Linked DNA regions of Homo sapiens: all the other regions are linked to region 2. Evidence: promoter capture Hi-C in 16 types of primary human blood cells and fetal thymus (Javierre and others, 2016). All regions are on one chromosome and are shown on one strand. The core of a region is centred on a gene start or on the middle of the fragment in contact, and the rest is flanking DNA. Distances in the headings are between cores, read along the strand shown.

Region 1 (2,700 bases), core at 156-2,655, 190 kb after region 2:
TCTCACAATTGTGTTATCTCATTTGAAAAATCAGAATGCTGGGTGCAGTGGTGTGCACCTGTAGTCCCAGCTACTCAGGAGAGTGAGGTAGGAGTATTGTTTGAGCCCTGGACTTCAAAGCCAGCTTGGGCAACATAGCAAGACCCCGTCTCTAAAAAAAAAAAAATAATAAAATAAAAAAATAAAATAAAATAAAAGAATAAAAATAAGAAGACCACACCTCACAGCAATTAGATAATCCAAACGACATGGATTTGGAACTTGGATTCAAACTCAAGCAGTCTGGTTCCAAAGATTTCATTCCTAACCACTTAAGTGATAGATTTTTCATTTCTGTTCACCTTTAGTATTAAGCCAATACAGTTTGCTTTGAAGCCCCAGTTCCATCTTTTTAAGTAAATGTGGGCAAGAGGCTTAGTAGTTATGGCTAATTCTGGTTTGCTCCTGCTGCTGGGCACTCTGTCTTTACACATGGAGTAGTTCCATATAGTGGGAAAAAAAGTCTCACGAAGCCCAGGCCAATGAATACACTTTCAGACTTAGAAGGCCATGGTTACAACCTTCCTTCACCTCAAAAACTGAAAAACAAGACCCCACACTGCTTTCCTATCACACCTTGTAAAATGGGGCCTCTGACCCTCCTTGATTTGATGAATCCTATTAATGTTCATCCAATGCTCTCTGCCCATGATCCTCTATCATGGTTATTTACACATTATGTGTCATGCCCAAGCATAAGTGGGAAAACCAACTTCCCCTCCGATAACAGATGAAGACTCTAATGAAATCTACTAAACCTCACACCCAGTTTGGGGAATCCAAGAATTACTATACACTGAGGCAGATACTTTATTTGGGGATTCTGCCTGAAGTAAGACTAAAGAGCAAAGTCTCTTCTTTAGAAAGGCAAGAACAAGGGGCAGAGTAAAACTAAGGGAGCATAAAGAAAGCCTAGAAGTCCACGTGTAGAGGGAAGAATAAAGGGGGTAAGAAGACACAATAGAAGAGGGGTGGAAACAGAAGAATGACAAAAGAAGGGCAAAAGCTACAGTCCAAGTGCTAGAGCCAAGCCAGTTTCTTACAGATGTAGGGTGTGTGTGTGTGTGTGTGTGCGTGCACGCACACACGTGCACACACGTTACAAGTGGAGAATGAAGGTAAGGTATCCTAGGATAAGGTCTCCTAGCAGACTTGCATTTTTGGCTCATAGTATTAGACTTTATTGGTGGTAGCATAGAAAGTAGAAGAAACGACTCATAGCTTCTGGCAGCTGCTTAGTTAAATTAAGGTGAAATGGGCTAGAGACAGGCAGGCTTCCTCTGACACGTTTAGATCATATTCCAAGTGTTTATCCCAGTAGCCTAGACTAGCCTGTTGACACAAAGAGCTCTTCAAATATCTGTAGGTAGCAGGGTTAGGAAATTCCTGTGACAGGTTTTCATTTCTGCCATTTTTCAAAGTACACAGGATGTAGAGCATGGATAGTGATATAGTATTGATTGGTAACAGGCCCACTGGCTCCCCACTCAATATGAAAGTTTAAGAACTGGAGTAACTGTGCATAGAAGAGCTTATACCAAGAAGCCCATTTTATCACATGGAAAATCACAAGGTTCCCTGTTTCAAATGTCTAATCCAAATTTTAAAAACATGTTCTATTCCTATGCTAGTTTAGATGAAAGAGAGTTCAGGATGCTATAGGTAAATTTCTTAGGTTAAGAGGTTGCTAGAGAAAAAATGATGTTTGAAAAATGTTTCGGCCAGAAGCAGTGGCTCACACTTGTAATCCCAGCACTTTGGGAGGCCAAGGCAAGTGGACTGCCTGAGCTCAGGAGTTCGAGACCAGCCTGGGCAACACAGTGAAACCCTGTCTCTACTAAAAATACAAAAATTAGCCGGGCTTGGTGGTGCACGCCTGTAATCCCAGCTACTCAGGAGGCTAAGGTGGGAGAATTGCTTGAACCCAGGAGGCTGAGGTTGCAGTGAGCCGAGATTGCACCACTGCACTCCAGCCTGGGTGACAGAGCAAGACTCCATCTAAAAAAAAAAAAGAAAATGTTTCTTAGGACAAATTTTAGAAAAGAGATAGTTTAGAGAGTATAGTTTTAGAAATGGCTTGTCACCTTGGTAGTCATTTAATACTAGAAAATAGCAAAATCATAGGACTATGAATAAAATTAGTATGAAATGTTCTATAAATAGTCAATCTATAGAATTACTGAAACTTTATTATGTCAAATTTAATTTTCAGGCATAAGTATGAATTTCTGCACAACAGAACAACTCCAGATATAAGAATAACAGTTCCACCAAAGAAGATTGGCATTCTATTAGACTATGAACATTCAAAGTTGTCATTTTTCAATGTGGACCTTTCTCAGCATCTATATACATTTAGTTGTCAGCTTCACGAATTTGTGCATCCCTGTTTTTCTTTGGAAAAGCCTGGGTGTCTAAAGGTACATAATGGCATTTCAATGCCAAAACATGTCACTTTCTATTAGAACATTCTGATGTCCAGTTTCCTGTCTTCCATGCCTACCCCTCTCGCAGCTGCTCACGCCTTAGCTGGCTGAACCTGGCACTTAAGCACCATGTGCCCAGCACAATTTATGGCTCATGCTATTATCTGACTGGTGTGCTAGCGCTCATTTCACCCAACCTGGATTCTAGTCCTGTGTGCTGCTACCTGTGTGCTGC
Region 2 (2,700 bases), core at 171-2,670:
TTGGAAACTCCCAAGATTATTTTATTTTTTACAAACTTATTTTGTATTTATTTATTTATTTTTTTGAGACAGTCTGGCTCTTTTCACCAGGCTAGAGTGCAGTGGCATGATCTCGGCTCGCTGCAACCCCTGCCTCCTGGGTTCAAGCGATTCTCCTGCATCAAGCCTCCCGAGTAGCTGGGAGTAGCTGGGACTACAGGAGCACGCCACCACACCCGGCTATTTATGTATTTAATTAATTAATTTATTTATTTTTTGAGACGGAGTCTCGCTCTGTTGCCCAGGCTGGAGTGCAGTGGTGCGATCTCGGCTCACTACAAGATCCGCCTTCCAGGTTCACGCGATTCTTGTGCGTCAGCCTCCGGAGTAGCTGGGACTACAGGCGCCTGTCTCCACGCCCGGCTAATTTTTTTTGTGTGTGTGTATTTTTAGTAGAGACGGGGTTTCACCGTGTTAGCCAGGATGGCCTCGATCTCCAGACCTCGTGATTCGCCCGCCTCGGCCTCCCAAAGTGCTGGGATTACAGGCGTGAGCCACCGCGCCCGACCTGTCCCTTGACTTTTTTACTGTCCTGAGATGCCAGGCTTATGTGGGCGGTGTGTTCCCAGCAGAAGATGATCCCGTGGAAGTCCCGGGGGATGAAGGTTAGGTTAGTCCCAGTGCCAGCCTTTGGTAGAAACTCAGGACCTGATAGGTAGAAAGGCGACGAAGAGAGCCTGCTCTTCTTCAAGTTCTACTTTTGCCATCCTAATTCCCCTCGCTCTAAGGATAAAACCAAGCTTGATGAAGCCGCCTTAAAACTGCCCCTTCAAGTGGGAGCCCTCATCTCATTTTTATCCAGGAAAGAGCCCAGAGCATCTGCCGCGGCCTGTAGGCTCTTCTCTGCCAGGCTGGCTTCCGAAATTTCACGGTGGCGGGTACCTTAAGGCCACTCGGCCGGGCAACTGGCAGGAAGATGAAGGTGGGCTTTAAGGAGGAGCACAGCTATGCCCATCTCAGACTCTGGAGACCCGAACGAACTCTAATCTGAATGTGTGACCTTGGGCAAATCACTTACCCTCCCCAGGCCTCGGTTCCCTTATCTGCAAAGTAAAGGTAGCCCTAAAGTCCCCGCCAGGTGTGAATGGGACTTTAAGTCCATCAGGCAGGATGTTGATGGCACTGCGCCAGGGCCCCGGGTCGGCGTGGGGCGGGGGCGCGCCAACGCGGGGCCGGCACCGAGGACTGGGTGGCCCGGGAGAAAAGCGGCGACTGCGCGGCTGCGCGGGGGACGGTGCACACAGTGCTGCGCCCCCCGCCTCTTGGCTCGCTGCCGCGGCCCGGGGGCCACGAGGTTACGTAAGGAGCCGGGCGGGGGTAGCGGCTGGGGAGGGCGGGGCGGGCACCGCCCCAGCGCGGCCGCCCAGCCCCCGCCCGCCCGCGCCTGGCGGCGGTGGCGGCAGTGGCAGCAGTGGCAGCCGCGCAGCCCCGCGGAATGGAGCGGCGCCGGGGCTGAGCCGGGCGCGCACGGGCCGCCGCATGTGCCGCGCGGGGAGCGGCTGCCGAGCGGGCGGAGAGCGAGCGCGAGAGGCCCCGTCGGAGCGGCCGCCGGAGCAGCGCCGGAGATGGGGTGAGTGAGCCCGCGCCGCGCGCTCTCCGCGCGCCCCTCCGGAGGGACTGCGGGGCCGCGGCTGGCGTAACCGGGCTCGGAGCCTCCCGGCGGGCCGGCCCCCGCCTCCCCAAGCCGGAGCGAGCGCACACTCTGCGCCCGGGAGTCTGGGGCCACCTGACCCGCGCCCTCCGCCGGGGCACGCGGACACCCAGCAGGGGCACCCTGGCCTGGGCGCGGAGCCCGTGGCCCTTCCCCTCCCATACAGCCCGGGCACGGGGGCACCTGACGGGGACCGGTGCCCTGGCCGGCCTCCTGCCTCGGCCATTCCGCGGTCTCTTCGCCCCTGGGCGCAGTCAACTCCAGGGCCTGTGTGAGTCTAAGCAGTTTGTCGTTCTCCACGTTTGGATTTATTACAAGCAAAATGGAAATCGAAGTTTTCCTGGAAATAATCAAATAATAATAAACCTCCAGCGTAGGAATAGTGGACTTTGGATCTGCTTTGAGATGCTGAAGATGATGGAAGTCTATAAGGAACCTAGGTGAGGCTTCAGTCTTTGAAACAACTGAGTAGATGCTCAGGAGGGAAGTTGAAATACTCTGTCGAAGTGACTAATGCTTCTGAGTATATAAAGTAATTTAAGCTTTCCCCTCGGCGTCTCTCTGAGCAGTAGGCTCTGTGAGTCTGGGAGCCACTGTGCTAATAGCACAATAACTCCTTACATCTGCTCACTCTATTTGGGCACACGTTGACGGTTTGCCATACGTATTCAGGGGACACTTATGTCCACTTTACAGATGAGGAAACTGAGGCACAAAGTGGTTCGGTGACTTCCCCCAGGCTGTGTAGTTGATGAGCATTTGTGTAGCAGGGGTGGCCTTGCCACTGCCTGACGTGGGCATGGAGGCGGGTAAGTGAACCAGAATTCCTAAATCTCTCTGTTCCCTGCTGCTGAACCCAGCATTCTTCCAACAGCCCTTCGCAGGACTCAAATGCTTCTGCTCCAAGGGTCTAGAGATCTTGCTTTCCTGTTTGGGATGGGTGGGGCCTGGGAAGGCAAGAGTGCAGTGGAAGGAGCAAGATTGTCCTGGTGCCCTGGCTCAGCCCCCCT
Region 3 (2,700 bases), core at 123-2,622, 240 kb before region 2:
TCTTTTGCTTATAAATGAAAATCATCTCTCTCTAACCTTCTCTAATCCTCTTGGATTTTTGTTTCCCCCTTTTTTGTTAATCAATTCTATTTTTTTCTCTAAATCATTAATTTCTGATCTCATCTTCACTACCTTTCCCCAAGTATATTTTTCTTTTCTTCTATTTCAAACTTAATGAAATAAAGTCTTATTTAATTTTTTTGAAATCTTTTTGAAAATGAAAACTTTTAAAGCTAGTTTTCCTCAGGTCATATTTGGCTTCATGATGTAGATTTGAATAATTGGTGTTTTATAGTCATTTTCAAAATAGGTTTTGTGATTTTCATTTCTGAGTTGGCCCAAGAGATATTTAGGAGAGAATTTTAGGAATTATAACTGGCTAAAGAGTTTGTATGTAATGCTTTATTGTTTTTTAATATGGTTATCTTGTAGTCAGATTATGTATCCTTTTTAACTATTTTAATTCATTTAGTGTTCTTTTCATATGTGATCAACTTTTAAAAAATGGTTTTTGTATTCCTGAAAAGAAAGCTTCTTTAGGAGTCAATAAGTATATTGACTTAATAAATGAGTCAATAAGTATATTGACTTAATAAATAAGTCAATAAATATAATGGACAAATATAAATATATTGATATTTACTAATATATTTTTTAAAATTCTTAATGTTTATTTTTTGTCAACTACTCTCTCCAAAATGAAGAGGTATATAAATCTAACATATCTATTATATTTCTACATATCTGTCCCTTTTTTTGACCGTTTATTTAATAAATGTCAGGGCTTTATTTGGCACATAAATGTGTATAACTTGTAACTTCAGGATGGAGTCAAAATATAGTGATCTGCTATTTCATACTTTCTAGCACATAAGTTATAGTACTTCGTTGGATATTAGTTTTGTAACCTGTTTTCATTTTTGCTTTTATTTCACTAATACATCTTTATCCAGAATTTTACTCAAAACTTTTCTGTTTTGTTTTAAGATATAAGTATATGTAACTTAATTTTTTTAACCATTCCTAGGAGATTTTTTTCCCTTTTTTCATTCTTTGCCAAATTTTGTAAGAACCTGGTTTTCAGCATTTAAGCATATAACATTCTTAATTTCTGTCATTGAAACTTTTACTTTTTAAATTTTCAGTTATTTCCATGTGAAGGTAGAACTACGTGAATTGGGTAACATTAATGTTCTACCATTATAATCTCATTAGGTGTTTATTGAGTATCTCTTCTGGGTTAGTAACTGTGATAGACTTAGCATTATAAAAATTAATAAGACATGATTTTAACATTAAAGAGCTTGAGATAGATTAAGGAACAGAAACATGTACATAGAGGAATACAAGTGCAATATATGTAGATCTCGATGACAATATTTTTCTTTTATTTTTTTAAAAAGACACATTTATTCAGTATCATGATCAGACTATTACATTTAGCAATCAACAGCATGGGTGCAAAAAAAAATCTACATTAAAAAACCTTTGTTGGAATGTTTTACACTTTCCACATAACAGAAACTAAAATAACCTGTTATACAATTAGTCACAAATACAATCCTCAAGTTTTTTGCCCAATATTTGTCTGAAACATGATGACAGGATTTTTCTATCTTTGCAATTAGACTAAATGAACAAGAATGAGCCAAAACTGACTAAGAAAGAGCGTGGAAAAGAGAATACATGGAGACATTTTTAATTGGCAATTTATTACAAAAAGACTGGGTTTCAGCTTTTTTTGTCATACGATATTGAAATGTAGTTTTTGGAACTGTCTACATTATTTGTAATACAACTATATAGTCTTACCATTAGAAAGAGATAACACTGCATCCTGAGTGAGCCCTCCTTTACATTTTGTTCTATTGCTTTTTCCTTCCCTGCAGGCAATTTCAAAGTCTTTAATGAAAATTTAAATGATAGTACCTTCTGAGACATAAGATTTAAGATGATTTTCAGTGTTGTTTTCGAAGGGATGAGAAAGCTAAAATGCATTAATCTCTTTTACCAACTGACTTGCTCAGTTACAGAGCAAGTAAGTGGAAGGGAGCTGCACTAAAATTCATTGCCGTCTGCACCCATCTCCATAGGATGCCAGGAGGAAGTGAAAGGAGATAAGGAATTCACACTAACCACTTTGACAATTAGGCAGAAACCCTGAATTTATTTTAGGTAAAGAAAAGGTGAAAACCAGACTTGGAATAAGCTTTTTATGTGCTCATTGTAATTAAAAAAAAATTTTAATTGTAAAAATACATAGAATGTAATTTATACCATCTTAATAATCATTTTAAGTGTATAGTTTATGTAATATTAAGTACATTGTTTTGTAACCATCACCACTCTCTATCTCCAGAACTCTTTTCATCTTGCAAAACAAACTATACCCATTAAAAAATAACTCTACATTCCCTGCCTCCTAGTCCCTGGCAATCACCTCTCCACTTTGTGTCTCTATGAGTGGGCTACTCTGGGTACCTCATACAGATGGAATTATACGGTATGTGTTTTTTTGTGACTGGCTTATTTCACTTAGCATAATATCCTTGAGGCTCATGTATGTCCAAATTTTCTTCCTTTTTGAGACTGAATAACATCCCATTGTGTATATGTAAAACATTTTGTTTATTCATCCACTGATGGATACCTGAGTTTTTTTCACCTTTTGGTTATTGTGAATGATGCTGTTATGAACAT
Region 4 (2,700 bases), core at 108-2,607, 180 kb before region 2:
GCGTGGTGGCTCATACCTATAATCCCAGCACTTTGGGATGCCAAGGCGGGAGGGTCACTTGAGTCCAGGAGTTTGAGACCAGCCTGGGCAACATAGCAAGACCCTGTCTCAAGTTAAAAAAAAAATGATAAATTTACTTCAGTAAACTCTTCACAACCAAATTATTCACACGTAAGTTTCCATATCTCTTTGTGAGAAAAAGACATGACATAGCACCTACATAGCCAGGGAGTTAGAGAGTCTGAGGGCAGCACCTGACTGAAGTAACTGAACCTCCTTCGCTGGCTGTGGGATGGCAGGCTCCTTACCAAGCCCATGGTGAGTCTGTCCCAAAGCTTTCACCCAGTTTCTTTGTTTTCTTGGTAATTATATACAATACACTTAATTTAATTAGTTTGTCTTCAGGTTAATCTTCGGAACAACATAAGGCATATCTCCAAATTCTTACTGGGAATCTTCTACCAGTAATAGTAGCAACAAAGGGTTACATAGCTGTTATGTGCCAGACACTGTTTTAAGCCCTTTACATGTATTACCTCATCCAACCCTAACAGCAATTCCATGAGAAAGCTACTGTTATTATCCTCACTTTACAGAAGAGGAAACTGAGGATCAGAGAGGTAAAGTAGCCAAGGTCATTGTGCTCATCAGCAACAGGCTAGAATCTGAACCAGTTCACCTCCAGAGCTTATGTTCCTAACTATATGAACTCTACTGGCTTTGGCTTTTTTTCATTTTCATTGATATTTTAGCAGAGAAAATGCTTCAATTGATAGGAAATGCTAATAAGTGGATCTAAGCAGCCTATAATGCCTTTCAGATTACACTTGCAGCTTTAATCCTATGGTTAGCATTTTATATGAAAAGATACCTGGGTTATGAGTAAGTCCCCAGTGGAACTCTTTGGTCTAAAATGTGTCCTGGTTTCATTTTATTCAATCTTCTTTTACTCTTTCCTTGATCTTTTGATTTCTGAAGGCAGCAGATTTGGCAGACTCCTACATGGTCTGAAATCAAGGCCCCAATAACTACTCACTCTTTTTTCTTTCTTTTTTTTGAGACAGTCTTGCTCTGTCACCCAGGCTGCAGTGTAGTGGGCGTGATCTTGGCACACTGCAGCCTCTGCCTCCCAGGTTCAAGCGATTCTCCTGCCTCAGCCTCCCAAGTAGCTGGGATTATAGATGCCCACCACCACACCCAGCTAATTTTTTGTATTTTTAGTAGAGACGGGGTTTCGTCATGTTGGCCAGGCTGGTCTCAAACTCCTGACCTCAGGTGATCCACCTGCCTGGTCCTCCCAAAGTGCTAGGGTTACATGTGTGAGCCACTGCGCCTGGCCACTACTCAATATTTCTTCCATTGGCCTATACTGATCTAGAACTTTTCAAAGGTGGTTTTTTTTTCCCTTACTAAGTTGCATAGATTCTTGAGAGTTTACTAGATGTTTCAGTAAAAGTAAGTTTTAGTAAAGTTAGTGGGATCATGAATGCATAAGGTTTCTAAATAAGAATGGCAATTTTAGCAAGCAAAGATGCTGATTAAAGTTACAGAAAAATGCCTATTTTTGTTTTGTTTTGTTTTTTTGTGGTGGTGGGAGAGACAGGGTCTCTCTCTGTCACCTGGGCTGGAGAGTGCAGTGACACAGTCTCGGCTCACTGCAACCTCTGCCTCCTGGTTCAAGTGATCCTCCCACCTCAGCCTTCCTAGTAGCTGGGACTGCAGGCATATGCCATCACGCCAGCCTAATTTTTGTATTTTTTGTAGAGATGGGGTTTTACCATGTTGCCCAGGCTGGTTTCAAACTCCTGACTTCAAGCAGTCCACCCACCTCGGGCTCCCAAAGTGCTGGGATTACAGGTGTGAGCCACCGTGCCTTGCTGGAGAGTGCTTTCTGTGATGAATGTGTCAGATACTCCCATAAGATGAGACTCCATTTCATAAGCGAGTATTTGCTAAGTACAAAACAAATAACGTAATTCAGTATTCTGGTCATATCTATTGTTTTGTTGCGGCATGGCTTCTAACTTTTCCTTAGCCTACACACTATAAGTGGGTAGATATTAAAGCTCAGCCAAGAGCTGTGGGAATCAGACCCATAATTCTTTACTCAGTCTGTCTTCACCTGCTGGGCTGGGAGAAACATCCTTCTGACATTTACAGGATCTGGTCCTTAGCCTTAGGCTCTGGATCTGGGCATTCACCATCAAGAGAGGGGCTTCAGGCTGCCTTATCAACTGGGCAGTGATGGATAAGCCCCAGGATGCCTGACGTCTGACATGAATGAGGTAATGCCCCTGCGGCTGCCAGCTGCTCTGTAGTCCACACTGCCCTTCTCAGAACCACTTGGCTGGAGTAATAAGTGCCCACCTGCAAGCTTAGCTTCACCAACAGATTAGGGTTTGTCTTATTGCTACAGGCTTACCACACCCATTTTCCTCTAAGCTATGACCTTCCTAAGCTTCCTGACTGTTGACCCTGGCCATGTGACTAGGCTTTTGCCTAGGTTTTCCTGCTGTTTCCATTTGTCTCCTGAGACTTGACCAGGTCCAACATCTGGTCTCTTTAACCAGCCTGCTGGCTGATGACACTTAGCATTCCTGCATCAGGGACTGGTACCAGGCCGACCAGGCACATGGCAGGCAGAGGAGGCCTGATTGTGCAGGCAAAGCACAATTGACACAGGTAATAGGTGTCAAACTG
Region 5 (2,700 bases), core at 1-2,500, 210 kb after region 2:
CTGTTGATATATCATCATATATCATATCTTTCCTCACCATGTCCAGTCTATTAGCCCATCAAAGACATTCTTCATTTTCTATTCACAGTGTTTTTTATCTCTTGCATTTTTTTTGGTTCTTTTTTGTTTTTATTTTATTTTGTTTATTTATTTATTTTGGAGATAGAGCCTCACTGTTACCCAGGCTGGAATGCAGTGGCATGATCTCGGCTCACTGCAACCTCTGTTTCCTGGGTCTGGGTTCAAGAGATTCTTGTGCCTCAGCCTCACAAGAAGCTGGGACTACAGGCACGCACCACCACCCCCTGCTAATTTTTTTGTATTTTTAGTAGAGACAGGGTTTCGCCATGTTGCCCAGGCTGGTCTCGAACTCCTGAGCTCAGGCAATCTGCCCCACTTCGGCCTCCCAAAGTGTTAGGATTATAGGTGTAAGCCACTGCTCCCAGCGTCTTTTTGGTTCTTTCTTAGGATTTCCATCTCTCTGTTTACACTGACCATCTGTTCTTGCATGCTGTCTACTTTACCCATTAAAGCTGTTAGTATATTAATCAAAGTTGTTTAAAATTTCTTGTCTAATAATTCCAACATTCCTGCCATGTCTGGTTCTGATGCTTGCTCTGTCTCTTCAAAATGTGTGTTTTGCCTTTTAGTTTGCCTTGTAATTTTTTCTTCATAGCTGGACAGGATGTACCAGGGAAAAGGAACTGCTGCAAATAGGCCTTTAGTAATGTGGGGGTAAGGTGTGGGGAGAGGGAAAGTATTCCTCTATGAACCCTATGATTAGGTCTCAGTCTTTTAGTGAGCATGTGCTTCTGGAATGTGAACTTTACAAGTGCTTCTCAGTTTTTTTCTTCCCCCTTAGGTGGGACAAGATGGCCAGAGTGGGCTGGCGTTGGGCATTTTTCCCTTCTCCCAGGCCAGTTAGGCTCTGATAAAACTCCAGCCATTTAGGCTCTGATTAAATATTTCTCCCGAGGGCAGACTTTGTTAAGAACAGCATGCTCTGGCATGTTTCGAAATGGTTCTTTTTCTTCTTCTCCTGCTAGAAGCATGACAAGATTTTTCTCTAATATTTATTGTGAGAACCTGGTCAAACTCTTGGAGGTAAAACTCACAGAAGCTTGGGTTCTCCCTCCCCTGTTTCTGGTTTCTTCTGGAATTTTTGACTCTCAGACTTGTCTACACTTGCCTCTGGCAATTCAATTACAGTTCATGTTTTTCTGCCCTGGCATTGGTTCCTTTGTGGAGATTTCTGCTCTGGGTAGCTTGTGACTTTTGTACATACCTGTCTGCCTCTCCAATTTTGGGGATAGTGGTTTGCCCTGTGACCTCACTTTTCTTCTGGATTTAAGAAAAATTATGTCAGTTCGTTAAGCTTTTCTTTCTTTTTTTTTTTTCTGAGACAAAGTGTTGCTCTGTTGCCCAGGGTGGAGTGCAGTGGCGTGATCTCACCCATCTTTATTTCACATTGGAAGTATTCCTCAAATGTCTGGAGTGGGGGGGTCTTGACTGTTTATATTTTTTAATGAAGTAATAAGTGGATTACGAGCTCTCTTGTGTGGAACTTTTCTGATGGCCAAGATGATGGGACAGGAATGCTGACATTTTACTGTAATGGGTAGAATGCAGGGGATTTTCTACGGAGCCCTTAGATTTATTTCCAGAATAACGTTTCAGCGTGATGTGTGAATGTATGGGAAATTCTGGATGGTCTGTGTTCCTCCTATCACACCTTCACCCTGGGGGTAGATTCTTGGCTGTAAGGCATTCTGCATGCAGAGGTGGAAGGGAAGGAAAACTGTTTCATATGTGGAATCTTGGCCTTATATCTCATTCCTGTACTCAGTTGTCTCTGATATTTCCTGGTTCTGGACCCTTCTAGCATTCCGTAGTGTGAATTGTTTTTTTCCTGGGGTATATCTTCCACCCTCTGCAGTTTCTTCTGCTTCCCCCCCGCATCAGTATCATTCCTTCATCAGCTATCTTCCAAAATTTCTTTGAAATCTCTGATCTACTAATGATCTTTTCCCCATTCTCTTGTTTAGATCTTTATGTTTCTTTTCCCATTCTCTTATTTATATCTTTATGTCTCTTTTTATTTCTTAAGTATGATTTTAATGAAACTTAGGAGGGTGAGATGATAAATCATGTTTTCAATTTTAACAAGGCAAAAACAAGCTCATCAAGCATTCACTGGTTGGGCGCTGTGGCTCACACCTGTAATCTCAGCACTTTGGGAGGCCGAGGTAGGGCAGATTGCCTGAGCTCAGTAGTTCAAGACTAGCCTGGCCAACATGGTGAAACCCCATCTCTACTAAAAATACAAAAATTAGCCAGGCGTGGTGGCTCACGCCTGTAATCCCAGCACTTTGGGAGGCTGAGGTAGGGCAGATTGCCTGAGCTCAGGAGTTCAAGACCAGCCTGGCCAAGATGGTGAAACCCCATCTCTACTAAAAATACAAAAATTAGCCAGGTGTGGTGTTGGGCGCCTGTAATCCCAGCTACTCGGGAGGCTGAGGCAGGGAGAATGCTTGAACCCGGGAGGTGGAGGTTGCAGTGAGCCTAGATCGCACCACTGCGCTCCAGCCTGGGTGTCAGAGTGAGACTGTCTCAAAAAAAAAAAAAAAAAAGAAAAGAGTTCACTGATTAAATTATGGTCTATTCATACAGTAGAATACTAGACATTCATTTAAAATGATG

Evidence for each region. Contacts are between HindIII fragments. The CHiCAGO score rates a contact against its expected background, and 5 or more counts as called.
Region 1: a fragment that was not itself captured here is called in contact with the fragment with the promoter of HOMER2 in region 2 in 1 of 17 cell types (total B cells); the score reaches 5.2 in total B cells.
Region 3: a contact is called between a fragment that was not itself captured here and the fragment with the promoter of HOMER2 in region 2, in 2 of 17 cell types (neutrophils and megakaryocytes). The highest score is 5.7, in neutrophils.
Region 4: a fragment that was not itself captured here is called in contact with the fragment with the promoter of HOMER2 in region 2 in 1 of 17 cell types (neutrophils); the score reaches 7.2 in neutrophils.
Region 5: a fragment that was not itself captured here is called in contact with the fragment with the promoter of HOMER2 in region 2 in 3 of 17 cell types (total B cells, naive CD4 T cells and naive CD8 T cells); the score reaches 7.3 in total B cells.

Annotation. Positions count from the first base shown.
Region 1 is chr15:82,759,152-82,761,851 of GRCh38, reverse strand. It overlaps FSD2 (fibronectin type III and SPRY domain containing 2), which reads left to right. Exons shown (of 13, transcript NM_001007122.4): 13 at 2,252-2,700. The coding sequence ends at 2,504. Among named protein-coding and RNA genes, the nearest start is that of SNHG21, 9.9 kb to the right of the region's middle. The HindIII fragment of the contact is 4,379 bases long and covers 1-2,700 here.
Region 2 is chr15:82,951,440-82,954,139 of GRCh38, reverse strand. It overlaps HOMER2 (homer scaffold protein 2), which reads left to right and starts at 1,420. Exons shown (of 9, transcript NM_004839.4): 1 at 1,420-1,609. The coding sequence starts at 1,605. RefSeq lists an enhancer at 1,670-2,170. The HindIII fragment of the contact is 1,453 bases long and covers 782-2,234 here.
Region 3 is chr15:83,194,120-83,196,819 of GRCh38, reverse strand. All of the region lies in intron 1 of HDGFL3 (HDGF like 3), which reads left to right. Among named protein-coding and RNA genes, the nearest start is that of HDGFL3, 12 kb to the left of the region's middle. The HindIII fragment of the contact is 1,678 bases long and covers 534-2,211 here.
Region 4 is chr15:83,129,988-83,132,687 of GRCh38, reverse strand. The region is part of intron 9 of TM6SF1 (transmembrane 6 superfamily member 1); the gene reads right to left. HDGFL3 (HDGF like 3) reads left to right here. Exons shown (of 6, transcript NM_016073.4): 6 at 1-2,700. Among named protein-coding and RNA genes, the nearest start is that of TM6SF1, 24 kb to the right of the region's middle. The HindIII fragment of the contact is 2,039 bases long and covers 338-2,376 here.
Region 5 is chr15:82,740,724-82,743,423 of GRCh38, reverse strand. No RefSeq gene overlaps it. Among named protein-coding and RNA genes, the nearest start is that of SNHG21, 8.5 kb to the left of the region's middle. The HindIII fragment of the contact is 255 bases long and covers 1,123-1,377 here.